Linked DNA regions of Homo sapiens: regions 2, 3 and 4 are each linked to region 1. Evidence: promoter capture Hi-C in 16 types of primary human blood cells and fetal thymus (Javierre and others, 2016). All regions are on one chromosome and are shown on one strand. Each heading gives the region's core, a stretch centred on a gene start or on the middle of the fragment in contact. The rest is flanking DNA. Distances are from core to core; before and after follow the strand shown.

The links. The method cuts DNA at HindIII sites, captures the fragments that hold promoters and counts their contacts. A CHiCAGO score of 5 or more calls a contact.
Region 2: a contact is called between a fragment that was not itself captured here and the fragment with the promoter of TMEM139 in region 1, in 1 of 17 cell types (M0 macrophages). The highest score is 6.2, in M0 macrophages.
Region 3: a contact is called between a fragment that was not itself captured here and the fragment with the promoter of TMEM139 in region 1, in 2 of 17 cell types (neutrophils and total CD8 T cells). The highest score is 9.1, in neutrophils.
Region 4: a fragment that was not itself captured here is called in contact with the fragment with the promoter of TMEM139 in region 1 in 1 of 17 cell types (M1 macrophages); the score reaches 5.3 in M1 macrophages.

Annotation. Positions count from the first base shown.
Region 1 is chr7:143,283,417-143,286,207 of GRCh38, forward strand. It overlaps TMEM139 (transmembrane protein 139), which reads left to right and starts at 1,542. Exons shown (of 3, transcript NM_001282876.2): 1 at 1,542-2,029; 2 at 2,525-2,786. The coding sequence starts at 2,542. TMEM139-AS1 (TMEM139 antisense RNA 1) reads right to left here. Exons shown (of 3, transcript NR_133932.1): 1 at 2,561-2,791; 2 at 2,302-2,422. RefSeq lists an enhancer at 1,568-2,767. The HindIII fragment of the contact is 11,639 bases long and covers 1-2,791 here.
Region 2 is chr7:143,488,459-143,491,158 of GRCh38, forward strand. The region is part of intron 2 of EPHA1-AS1 (EPHA1 antisense RNA 1); the gene reads left to right. It also overlaps the pseudogene OR2R1P. Among named protein-coding and RNA genes, the nearest start is that of TAS2R41, 12 kb to the left of the region's middle. The HindIII fragment of the contact is 3,467 bases long and covers 1-2,700 here.
Region 3 is chr7:143,421,656-143,424,355 of GRCh38, forward strand. The region is part of intron 2 of EPHA1-AS1 (EPHA1 antisense RNA 1); the gene reads left to right. Among named protein-coding and RNA genes, the nearest start is that of EPHA1, 14 kb to the left of the region's middle. The HindIII fragment of the contact is 391 bases long and covers 1,164-1,554 here.
Region 4 is chr7:143,514,459-143,517,320 of GRCh38, forward strand. All of the region lies in intron 3 of EPHA1-AS1 (EPHA1 antisense RNA 1), which reads left to right. Among named protein-coding and RNA genes, the nearest start is that of TAS2R41, 38 kb to the left of the region's middle. The HindIII fragment of the contact is 3,016 bases long and covers 105-2,862 here.

The DNA of each region.
Region 1 (2,791 bases), core at 292-2,791:
AGAGACTTAAGCTACAAAGGTCCGCCTCTCCCAGACTCTCCCCTTACACCTCAGGCCCATACCTTTTGGCCCCGTGCCTCTTAGCCTACACCTTCCCATTCCCACAACTCACTCCTTAACAAACCCCCTTTCCTATCACACACACCAATGACCCTTGGCCAATTTCCTTCTATTCATATGTTAACTGTAGACTGCAGTCCTGATTCCAGCTGTACTTTCCCCTTATGAGCAGAACAGTGAGGAAATTGGCTGAAACAGAACAACAATCAGCCCCCCTCACTCCTGTGCCTACTTTGCATAGAGACACACCTCATTTAGACTCCCACAGCCTTCCTGTTAATGTCTCCTTCCTCTCTCTGCTATCGATCTGGGGCTCTGGGACAGAGAATCTTCAATATCCCACCAGTGCCCACACTTATTACCACTACAGACACAGTTATTCTCATTCCCATACTCTCTCTCTCTCTCTCTCACACACACACACACACACACACCCTCTCCTATGCTTCCCCACCCCAGCTGTCCCTGGGGAGCCTGGATTGGATTTGTGCCCACGGTCTGCAGCTTCCCTCGGTCTGTCTGCTGGTCACCCTCTGAAGGAACGGGGCCCAGTTTTGTTCACCCTCTGGCTCAAGGACCAAGTATGCTTCTACTCACTCTCTACCTCCAAGCACCTACCCTACTCCGACTTAACTGCCTGACCCACAACTAAAAAGAACAGCTCTTTGATCTTCACAGGTGTGGTGAGGCCTGGTGAGAGGGGAGCCTTCTAGTTAGTGACCTACCACGTTTCAGGAACCATGTTAGTTTCCAGGATTCAGAGATGATTAAAACTAATCACGCACCTTGAGAAACTCACAGTGGAAGGAAAATCAGTAAGCAGAAAAATGCTACATAACCAGGTAAATGCTGGGACAAATTTAGGAAGGAACGATGTGGATACACTGGAGCAGGCTCCAAAGCAGCATCACCTCGGAGGAGGATCTTGAAGACTCAAGAGTTAACTGGGTCAAGAAATATACACACTAACACTTCTGACAGGTCTGCAGAATACAGGGAGTCCATAAAAATAGCACTTGGGTAATGGAAGCAGGACACACCATTCCATGCCCACAGCATTACTTTCTGTGTGCAGTGCACTGTGTGATGATCTACAGAGATTAAATAAGCCGAGGTCTCCGCTTCCAGTCACTTGGGAGAGACGCACAAGGTAAATTACCCAAATAGAAGGCAAACTGCCCAGGGCTGTAATTAACATACAATATGCGCCGAGAGGGAAAGGTTAATGCTAACTCCGGTCCTAAGTACAAAGATCATTGGGAGTCAGGGGTGCACTCTCATTAGGGTACAGCATGGGTGGGTGGAGAGAGTAAAAACCAGAACAAATCAAGGTTCAGCAGTTGGAAGTCAGCCTTAGGGAGAAAAGGGGCGGAGACTGACTGGGCCAGAACAGGGATTGGGACAGAAAAAGAGGGTGGGGCCAGTGGGCTCCACCTACCCGCTCCGGCCCTTCCCACCACCCCCCACCCCATCTACTTTCTACAGTCTGTGGAGACAGGTGAGCGACGAACTTCTGAGACAGGTGTGGGTGCGAGGGTCGGGAGGGTCATGGGATTGGGACCGAGGTGTGAGGAGGGAATCTGCAATTCCTTGCTACACAGAGCGCTGGCAACTTCTGACAGGCTGTTTCTGGGGTATGGGCTGCCTCGGGTTGTTGCTGTTACAAGGAAAGAAAAGAGTTCCCCTGCCCACCGCCTCCCAGCCACTGGGCTACCTCCTGGCAGGAAATTTGCAAACTGAGTTTAACAAGTTAGGATCAGCAGAGGGTAGAGGAGGGCCCTGGCAGATGTGGGGTCTAGAAGAGGACAGGAGTTATCAGGGCCTCCGGCCATTGTGCTGGGCCTTTGCCTGTACAATTGTTTCTCAAGCAGTTGTGTCCCTGTGGCTTTGGTGCGCCTGTGTGCACTTTCTCCCTCCACCTGGAGCATGGGCTAACACCGGAGGAAAGGAAAAGACAGAGTCAGACAGGGTAAGTGGGGCTCCCTCCCCTCTTCTCTCTAACGGGGCTGGATTGAGGGCCTCTGGCTGGGGAGGTGGGGGTGGAGATCCAGTAGGAGCAATAACAGAGGAAGGGCAGGGCCTGCCCCATCACCTGAATTCCAGAGATGCCAGTGTGCACTGAAGCCCCAGGCAGGGCGTGCCCAGGACCGGATCCTGGATGGTGGTAAGGGACAAAGCTGGAAGGGAGACTACAGGGAAGGAGAAAGGAAAGAAGGCAGAGCCATGACACAGTCAACTTACAGAATGGCTGGGAGTCAAAGCTCCTGGGCTGGTTTCCTGGCTATTCCACACACTCCAAGACATAGAGAGAATTTCGGAACTGGAGGGGACTCTACAGATGATTTATTTGAGATTGAAGAACCTAGAAACCAAACAAAGAAATATCATATGGTTACTTTGGTATCTGACACAGCCATGACACCAATTGCTAGTGTAGACACAATAGCTGTGTGTCTTTTTGCAGGAGCCTGGGGAGGGGCCATGGTGCCAATGCACTTACTGGGGAGACTGGAGAAGCCGCTTCTCCTCCTGTGCTGCGCCTCCTTCCTACTGGGGCTGGCTTTGCTGGGCATAAAGACGGACATCACCCCCGTTGCTTATTTCTTTCTCACATTGGGTGGCTTCTTCTTGTTTGCCTATCTCCTGGTCCGGTTTCTGGAATGGGGGCTTCGGTCCCAGCTCCAATCAATGCAGACTGAGAGCCCAGGGCCCTCAGGCAATGCACGGTGAG
Region 2 (2,700 bases), core at 5-2,504, 200 kb after region 1:
TCTCTAATGTTTTAATTCAGAGCTCCTCATCAGAGCTCGACTCAGAGCTGCCTTCACATCCTTGTTCCGCAGACTGTAGATGAAAGGATTCAACATGGGGGTCACCACAGCATAAGAGAGTACCATCACCTTTTCCTGCTCAGCTGAGGCCATGGAGCGAGGCTGCATGTAGGTAAAGAGGGCCATCCCATAGGATATGGAGACCACAGTGAGGTGGGAGGCACAGGTCCCAAAGGCCTTGCGGTGCCCCTGGGTGGAGTGGATCTGCAGGACGGCAACTACAATGAGGGTGTAGGACAGCGAGACCAGGCAGCAGGGCACCAGCAGCACCACCACACTGGAGGCCACTATGACCACCTGATTGAAGGTGATGTCCACGCAGGCCGACCTGACCAGTGCCAGTGTCTCACAGGCCACATGGTTCAGCACGTTGTGCCCACAGGTGGGCAGGTGCATGGTCAGTGCCGTCTCCATAGCAGAATTAGCCAGGCCCACTAGCCAAGAGACAGCTGCCAGTGCCATGCAGAGCCTTGGGCTCATCACTGCTATGTAACACAGGGGGTCGCAAACAGCCACGTAGCGGTCATAGGCCATTGCGGCCAGCAACAAAAACTCGGTCCCTCCGAGGGCCAGGGAGAAAAAGAGCTGGGTCCCACATCGGGCAAAGGAGATGGTCTTTCTTTGCTGGTGCAGTGCACCAGCATCTGAGGGACCCTGCTGGAGGTGTAGCAGATGTCCACAAGTGAGAGGTTGCAGAGGAAGAAATACATGGGCAGGTGGAGTCTCACGTCCAGCCAGATCAGGAGCAGGATGAGCCCATTGCCCAGCAGGGTCAGCAGGTAGGCAGCCCCAAATAAGATAAAGAGTCCAGCCTGGGTCTGCCTGTCACTGGAGAGACCCATTAGGATGAACTCACTCACCCAGGTTATGTTGTCCCTTCCCAGTTGGGACATTGAACCTCACTTCTTCAATCTAGGTGGTTAGGAGGGAATGCAAAGGTCTTGGAGAAAAGGACATTTGGTTTCTGACACTAAACCAAATTCTGAGAGGTTCTGAAGGACAAAGTCCCTGTTTTGGCCATCCTTTCACGTCGAGGACCGATCACAGTTACAGTTGTGTAGGAGGTAATCTATCAATGTAGAAGGAATGATAGAGAAGAAAGGATGAAAGAAGCAAAGAAAAACTAAGGAAAGACAATAGGAAAATGGAAAAGGAGGGAAGGAATGTGGAAGATATGAAAGAAAGGAAGGATTCTTCACTGTGGGGAAGCAGTGGGTAAAGTATTGTAATCAGACACTTGAGAACTGTAGGCATGTCCTAGGATTTCTCAGCTCATTTCTTAACTCTGGATTGAGCTGCTCTTCCTGCTTCTTCTAGGGTCCACTAAGTCCAGACAGGAATCCTCTCACATCCTTTTCATTTCTCCCACAAGTCCAGATAAAGCTGAAGTCCTTGAAACCAATATCTACTAATCCCCTGCTGGTGTGCCAGGGTCTGTGCCAGGCATTGGTTACCTGCTGGTAAGTAAGAAAGATAGAAACACGGGCCCTTGCTTTCTTGATTCTTATAATTTATCTAGGGACACAGAGATTACATCAATAATTACAAATAATTAATTAAGTATAATTGTGCTAAGTGCTATGAAGGAGAAGAACAAGGTTAGTATTTGGCTAATTAAATTTGGAGCTTTGTAATTAAATTATGACAGTAGTTATGCCTTACTCCTTAATAACATGCAATTTATATAGTGAGTTTCAGGCATTTATTTAGATGTTTAAACAAATGATTAACAAAGTAATGTTGTGATGCAAGCGTTCGAAAACCAATGATACTCATGTATTACTACTGAGTATGAGGTGATAGAAACCCACAGAATCTTTTCAAACAGAGTGAATTCTCCCTTGTCAGCCAAGGTTGTACCAGTTCATCTCCCTTCTACCATGCTGACTGGTCCTCTTGAAAAATAAAATTAAGTGCCATCACTTTTTCTTAATATAAATATAATCTCCAGATGTATTTCCTGCTCTTAAAAAATTTAATTAACAAACTGATTCATTTATTAAAACATTATTGAGTATATCAGGCACTATGCTTTCAACCAACCTCTAGGAAATTCCACCTTTCAATGTTAGGGATTTGTGTTTAGAAAATCAGCAGTGCCAGAGGATCAAATAATAAATTTTTAAAAATGGATTTTGGTCAAATCTGAGAATCTAATGAGAGCATGTTTGTGCAAGCCACTACAGCCAGAGGACAAATGCCATACATCTGCATTAAGAAAATGAGAGCAGAACCACAGAATAAAATGCAAGAAAGCTGAAATGCATAATTCAATTTATGTTTCTTCTGGCTGGAAACATTGGTGGAGGGAGAGAGCAGAGAGGACCTGGATGGAGCTGGCATCTTGTCTCCATTCAGCCCTGGTCCTGCAGTGGCCAGAAGGTGTCACTGTAGAAACTGCTAAGAATAGAAACTGGCCTTGGGTTCTCAAGGTTGGAGATCAGGTTCTAGGGTCAGAGCCAGGGGCTGGAATTTTGACTGCTGCCCTAGGGAGATGGTTCCCTTGTATCAGCAGAAGTAGATCAATGCTGATCTACTATGATCAGTATGCTGCTTGTTACTATAGACAGAATCTTCACCTTCAGAGTTGGCCTCAAGGATTGAGATACCCTCCAGAAGGTAACCACAACTGTTTAAAAT
Region 3 (2,700 bases), core at 109-2,608, 140 kb after region 1:
CTCATGTGGTTTGCTCATTTTGCTGATAAATAAACTGAAATCAAGGTTATTCAGCTAGGAATAGTCAAGGTGACCTTCAAACCCAGAAGTTCTGACACCAGAACTCACATTCAGTTGCTGCATTTAACTCTCATCACTCTGTGTAGACACAAGGAATCTTATTTATGCAAAGGCTTTGGTAGCAATGGCTAGGTTCTGAAGACTCTGGGGTTTAGATGGTGCACAAAGTAAAGAAGCATTAAAGAATGTTGCCTCATTGGATGCCTGGAAGGCAGGGAACTTGCATCCAGAGTTGGAGAGAATGCAGATGTGTGAACTAAAAATGGGACACAGGTCTTGCCATCCAGGAAGTTTTCTCAGGGTGTCTGCTTTCTGAGATACCCATTGAAAGTGTGTCATCTATGGGGAAAAAAAGATCTGTGTGATCCCTTAAAGACTTGACTACCTAAAGCTGATGGAAAGAGCACAGTTCTTAGAGGTAAGACCTCTCCTCTATGGCTGGGAGCTGCAGGAGGCTGGTGGCAGGTCATGGGCAGGCTGAGCAGCGGTGGAGATGGACAGCAACAGCAGGCAGCAGAGCTGCTGTGGGAGCAGAGTCCGGGACAGCTGTGCAGGGGCTGGATGCCCATGAGAGGGCTAGGTCTGGAGACCCACAGACCAAGCTGGCAGGGCGCACAGGGCCTAGTGCCATTGCAATGTGTCATTTGTCCCCCAGGCTGGGGGGACCTGGGGAAATGACTGTACAAATTCATCTTTTATGTATAAAACCTCTTCCTCCAAACTGGGCTTGAGAAATGTGCTGGTCTGTTGCTGTAGCTGCCTTACCAAAAGGTGAGTTCTAATTTTTCTGTTATACTTGATATTGACAATGAGCCCCATGAGCTTCTGTAAGGGGGTGTTTTTTGCTGACCATACCCGAGATGGCTATGATGTAGTCACATAGGATGAGGTGCCTCCTTCTTCCTCAGAGTGCATCAAGCCCTCCACCTTACAGTGATGACAGGAGACCCAGGAGTTCACTCTAACCCTCATCTGGTACTCCCACCCCCATCCTGTTATGTCTCTGGGTCTCCTAATGCTTATTAGAGTCTAGGTCTGGAAGAGGGTGGGAGCCCAGTTTGACGGCTGCAAAGTAATTGCCTTAAAACCCAAAAGCTGGGTGAAGCTTCATGCCTCCTTTACGGCTAATGATGACAATGCATGCTGCTCACTGGCCTGGCTAACCTCAGCACTGGACTACTCTCTTTCCCCAAGGTCATACTCAGTGGAGGGCGCCACGTGGACTAGGCTGGGTTTTAAGTCAAAGTGCAGTGTGCAGAAGGATGCAGGGGTCTGATATGGCTGCCCAGGGTTGTGGGGCATCAGGGTGCTGTGGGCTGGGCTCAGCTCAGAGAGGCTCAAGAATGCCAAACTCCGTGAGCTCCCTCCAGTAACCAGGAGATGCTGAGACCAGCATCTCCTGGTGGACACTATGCCAAGAGCCTGTTTCTATAGAAAGCTACTCTGCAGTGGAAGTGTTTCCGTCACCCAGGAATACTGGGTGACAACCACGAAAGCTTGTGTGTCCAGAATTGTTGGGTTCTTGGTCTCCCTGACTTCAAGAATGAAGCTGCGGACCCTCACGGTGAGTGTTACAGCTCTTAAGGTAGCGCGTCTGGAGTTTGTTCCTTCTGATGTTCGGATGTGTTGAGAGTTTCTTCTTTCTGGTGGGTTCGTGGTCTCGCGGGTTTCAGGAGTGAAGCTGCAGACGTTCGCGGTGCGTGTTATAGCTCTTAAGGCAGCACGTCTGGAGTTGTTCGTTCTTCCCAGTGGGCTCGTGGTCTCGTTGGCTTCAGGAATGAAGCTGCAGACTTTCGCGGTGAGTGTTACAGCTCATAAAAGCAGTGTGGACCCAAAGAGTGAGCAGCAGCAAGATTTATTGCAAGAAGCGAAAGAACAAAGCTCCCACATTGTGAAAGGGGACCCCAGCGGGTTGCCACTGCTGGCTCCGGCAGCCTGCTTTTATTCTCTTATCTGGCCCCACCCACATTCTGCTGATTGGTAGAGCCAAGTGGTCTGTTTTGACAGGGTGCTGATTGGTGCGTTTACAATCCCTGAGCTAGATATAAAGGTTCTCCACGTCCCCATCAGATTAGTTAGATACAGAGTATCCACACAAAGGTTTTCCAAGGCCCCACCAAAGCGGCTAGATACAGAGTGTCGATTGGTGCATTCACAAACCTTGAGCTAAACACAGGGTGCTGATTGGTGTGTTTACAAACCTTGAGCTAGATACAGAGTGCTGATTGGTGTGTTTACAATCCTTGAGCTAGACACAAAGTTCTCCAAGGCCCCACCAGAGCAGCTAGATACAGAGTGTTGATTGGTGTATTTACAATCCCTGAGCTAGACATAAAGGTTCTCCAAGGCCCCACCAGAGCAGCTAGATACAGAGTGTTGATTGGTGCACTCACAAACCCTGAGCTAGACACAGGGTGCTGATTGGTGTGTTTGCAATCCCTAAGCTAGACATAAACGTTCTCCAAGGCCCCACCAGAGCAGCTAGATACAGAGTGTCCATTGGTGCACTCACAAACCCTGAGCTAGACACAGGGTGCTGATTGGTGTGTTTACAATCCCTGAGCTAGACATAAAGACTCTCCACGTCCCCACCAGACTCAGGAGCCCAGCTGGCTTCACCCAGTGGATCCCGCACCAGGG
Region 4 (2,862 bases), core at 363-2,862, 230 kb after region 1:
GCGTGTTTCTGCTCTTAGAGTTTTTAGGAGGTATTGTCACAAATTCTAGGAATGTATGTTTCAGTCTTTTCTCTGGGAGAGGGAGGGAGAACAGATACTTTCAAAGCTTCAGTGATTCAAATCCAACTCTACCCTAGGAGGAGAAGTTACAGAGAGAGAAGAAAACACCACAAGGCCTGCCTAAGCCACCTTCCTCCCCCAGGGAGAAAGCAGATGTTCTTACTCTTCCGAGTGATGAATAACATCAGCTATAACAGCTAACATTTAAGAGACTGCCAGGCAATGCTCACGAGGACTTTGCAAATTTAATTTAACTTATTCTTAGTGACAGTGCAATAAGGTTAGTGGACTCTCTCCATACCCATGTTATAGATGAGGAAATTGAGGCCTAAGGAAATGAAACATCATCTAGCTAATTAACAGTATAGCCAGATTTATACCCAAGCAATCTAGCCCCCAATAGTCCATAGTCTTATCCACTATATAGTCGTCCTTATTTATACCTTTTCCAAAACATCCTTCCCTCATGAGACACATCTTACCCTTCTTTTCATATACCCCACCTTCTGCAGAAGAGAAATCACCCACGGTCTCTAGGCATTTCTGTCCTCAGATTTCCCTTTGTTGACATTTTTCTTGAGGACATGTGGATGTGAGCAGCAATGCAGATAATCTAAGATAGCAAATCTAAAAATAATTTCTCCTTAGCTTTGACATTCATTGCTGCTATTGTTATTGTTCCGGCAGATTCACTTTTTTAATTGGGTAAGACTCCATGGAGCACCCACAGAGTCATGGCTGGCTGGTGGCCCAGGACATCTGGATGTGGCTGAGAGCCTTGCTGGGCTGGAGATGCAGATCTGAGATTTGATTTTTTGCTGTATAGAATAATTAAAATTATCTGCAATCATGATGTTTTTAATCGGCCATTTCAAGAGTCAATGGAAGCACCCCTAAAGGGTGGATGTGGGATGGGAGATGTGAGAGCTAGACCAGTCAGCCCCTTTCAGGTTTTGAGGATTCCATAGAATGCTGAACTGGAATGGAGCTTAAAGGTCAAACATTCTAGGCCTTCATGTGAGGTCCAGAGATGTCACTAATCAGACTTGGATCTCACCATGGTCTTTTAGCAGGAGAACTGGACTAGAGCCTGGTTCTCACACCTCTGGCTGAATGGTTCCATTTCTGTAAGAATTGTCTTCCAGAGTAGACCTGAGCTTACTGATCTAGTATTATAGTTTACAAAATCACCAAATGAGAGGTCACAGCAGAATTTTATCATTGTCCTATAGTAGTTTAGGATAAAATTTTATCATTTCCCTGATCTGGTAAGAAGTTAAACTTAGAAGATTATGAATATGCCTGGATTTCTTAACCTCATTTAATAACTCTTCATAGGCTTCTGGTCTATGAATTTATATAAATTATTCTGGAACCCACTTTTATCCAGTGATTCCTTTTAGGAATAACACACTATACATTCATTTTTTTTTTTTAGCCTTAGTCCTTAGTGAAGTAAAAGGAGTCTCCATAGTTTATATTTCTGCTTTGTTGTTTATAGTTTATATTTCTGCTTTGTTGTTTTCTGAATGCTTGATGTGGGGAAGGGGCAAGGTAATAAACTCTTCCAAAGTCTCAGACTCCTCACTGATTCAACAGAGGGTAACAAAAGAGGCTTGATGATGGATGATTCCATAGAAATAACATGTACAAATTTCTGGTACAGACCTGATACATAGTAGGTGCAGAAAAACACTGAAAGCATTTTTACTTTTATCCTTTATTACTTGACAGGCTTAAGTCATATTTTCTCTGAGTATTCTCCCTCCCACCATGGAACTCTCCATAAGCGTGCTGTTTCAGGGGATTACCTAGTGCCTTTTCTCTTTCTGAGGTGCAAGAAGTAAAGTGAGTGTATATCTGGGTGTGGGAACCTTATGAGGAGATGAGTAGACATAGATGTAGGGAAGTCTGTCTATCTGTCTGTCTGTCTTCTATCTATCCACCTATTTCTATCTTTCCACTTATTTTCCCTCCTGCACTTCCTACTGTCTTTCTGAGACTGTACAAGCTATGGAAGAAGACATCACTAGATTAAAATCCTGGCTTAATCACTTATGTGCCATATTGACTTTGGTTGATGTACTCAATTTCCATGATCCTCAGTCTCTACATCTAAATGGAGATAATGATGCCTAATTCATAGGGTTGCTGTGAGAATCAGGCATATTATAAAGAAAGCCCATTACATAGTACCAGGCATGAAGAAGCTAACAAAAGGTGGTTTCTAATCATTTCATTTGACTACTCTGTCTTCTACAATGTCATGTCAGTCTTTGTGCTCCCTCTGCATAGCAGCCGACAACTGCAATTACTGTAATGCCTCCTTTCCCTACATCATACAGGCCTTTTTCTTGGTTTATGACAGATAACTTGAAAATAATTAATTTACATATATTTGCATTATATATGTTAAATTTAAATTTATTTTATAAAAGAAAACTCATTTACTATTCTTCTTGTTTTTTTTTTGCTGTCATGCAAACTTCCACATTTTTTAGTGTTTTTTTTTTTCCTCATCAATTTGGTAATTCCTTTACTGAAAGGAGGTAAATGTCATCTCTGGATTTATCAACTTCACTGTGTTGTCCCTCCCCAACCTTTTATGATCTCAGCCTCCATCGCTGGGATATGTGTTATTTGCCTGCATGGTGTTTCTGTCTTGTGAGCCAGTTCCTTTTACATGATAAAGCCGCCTACTGAATCTGTGATGACTAAATTTGGTATGAGATCTTGTCAAGGTCTTTTGAAAGTCTAAATAAAAGAAACCCTCTGTTAGTTTCTTGTTGGCTTCTTTCTCTC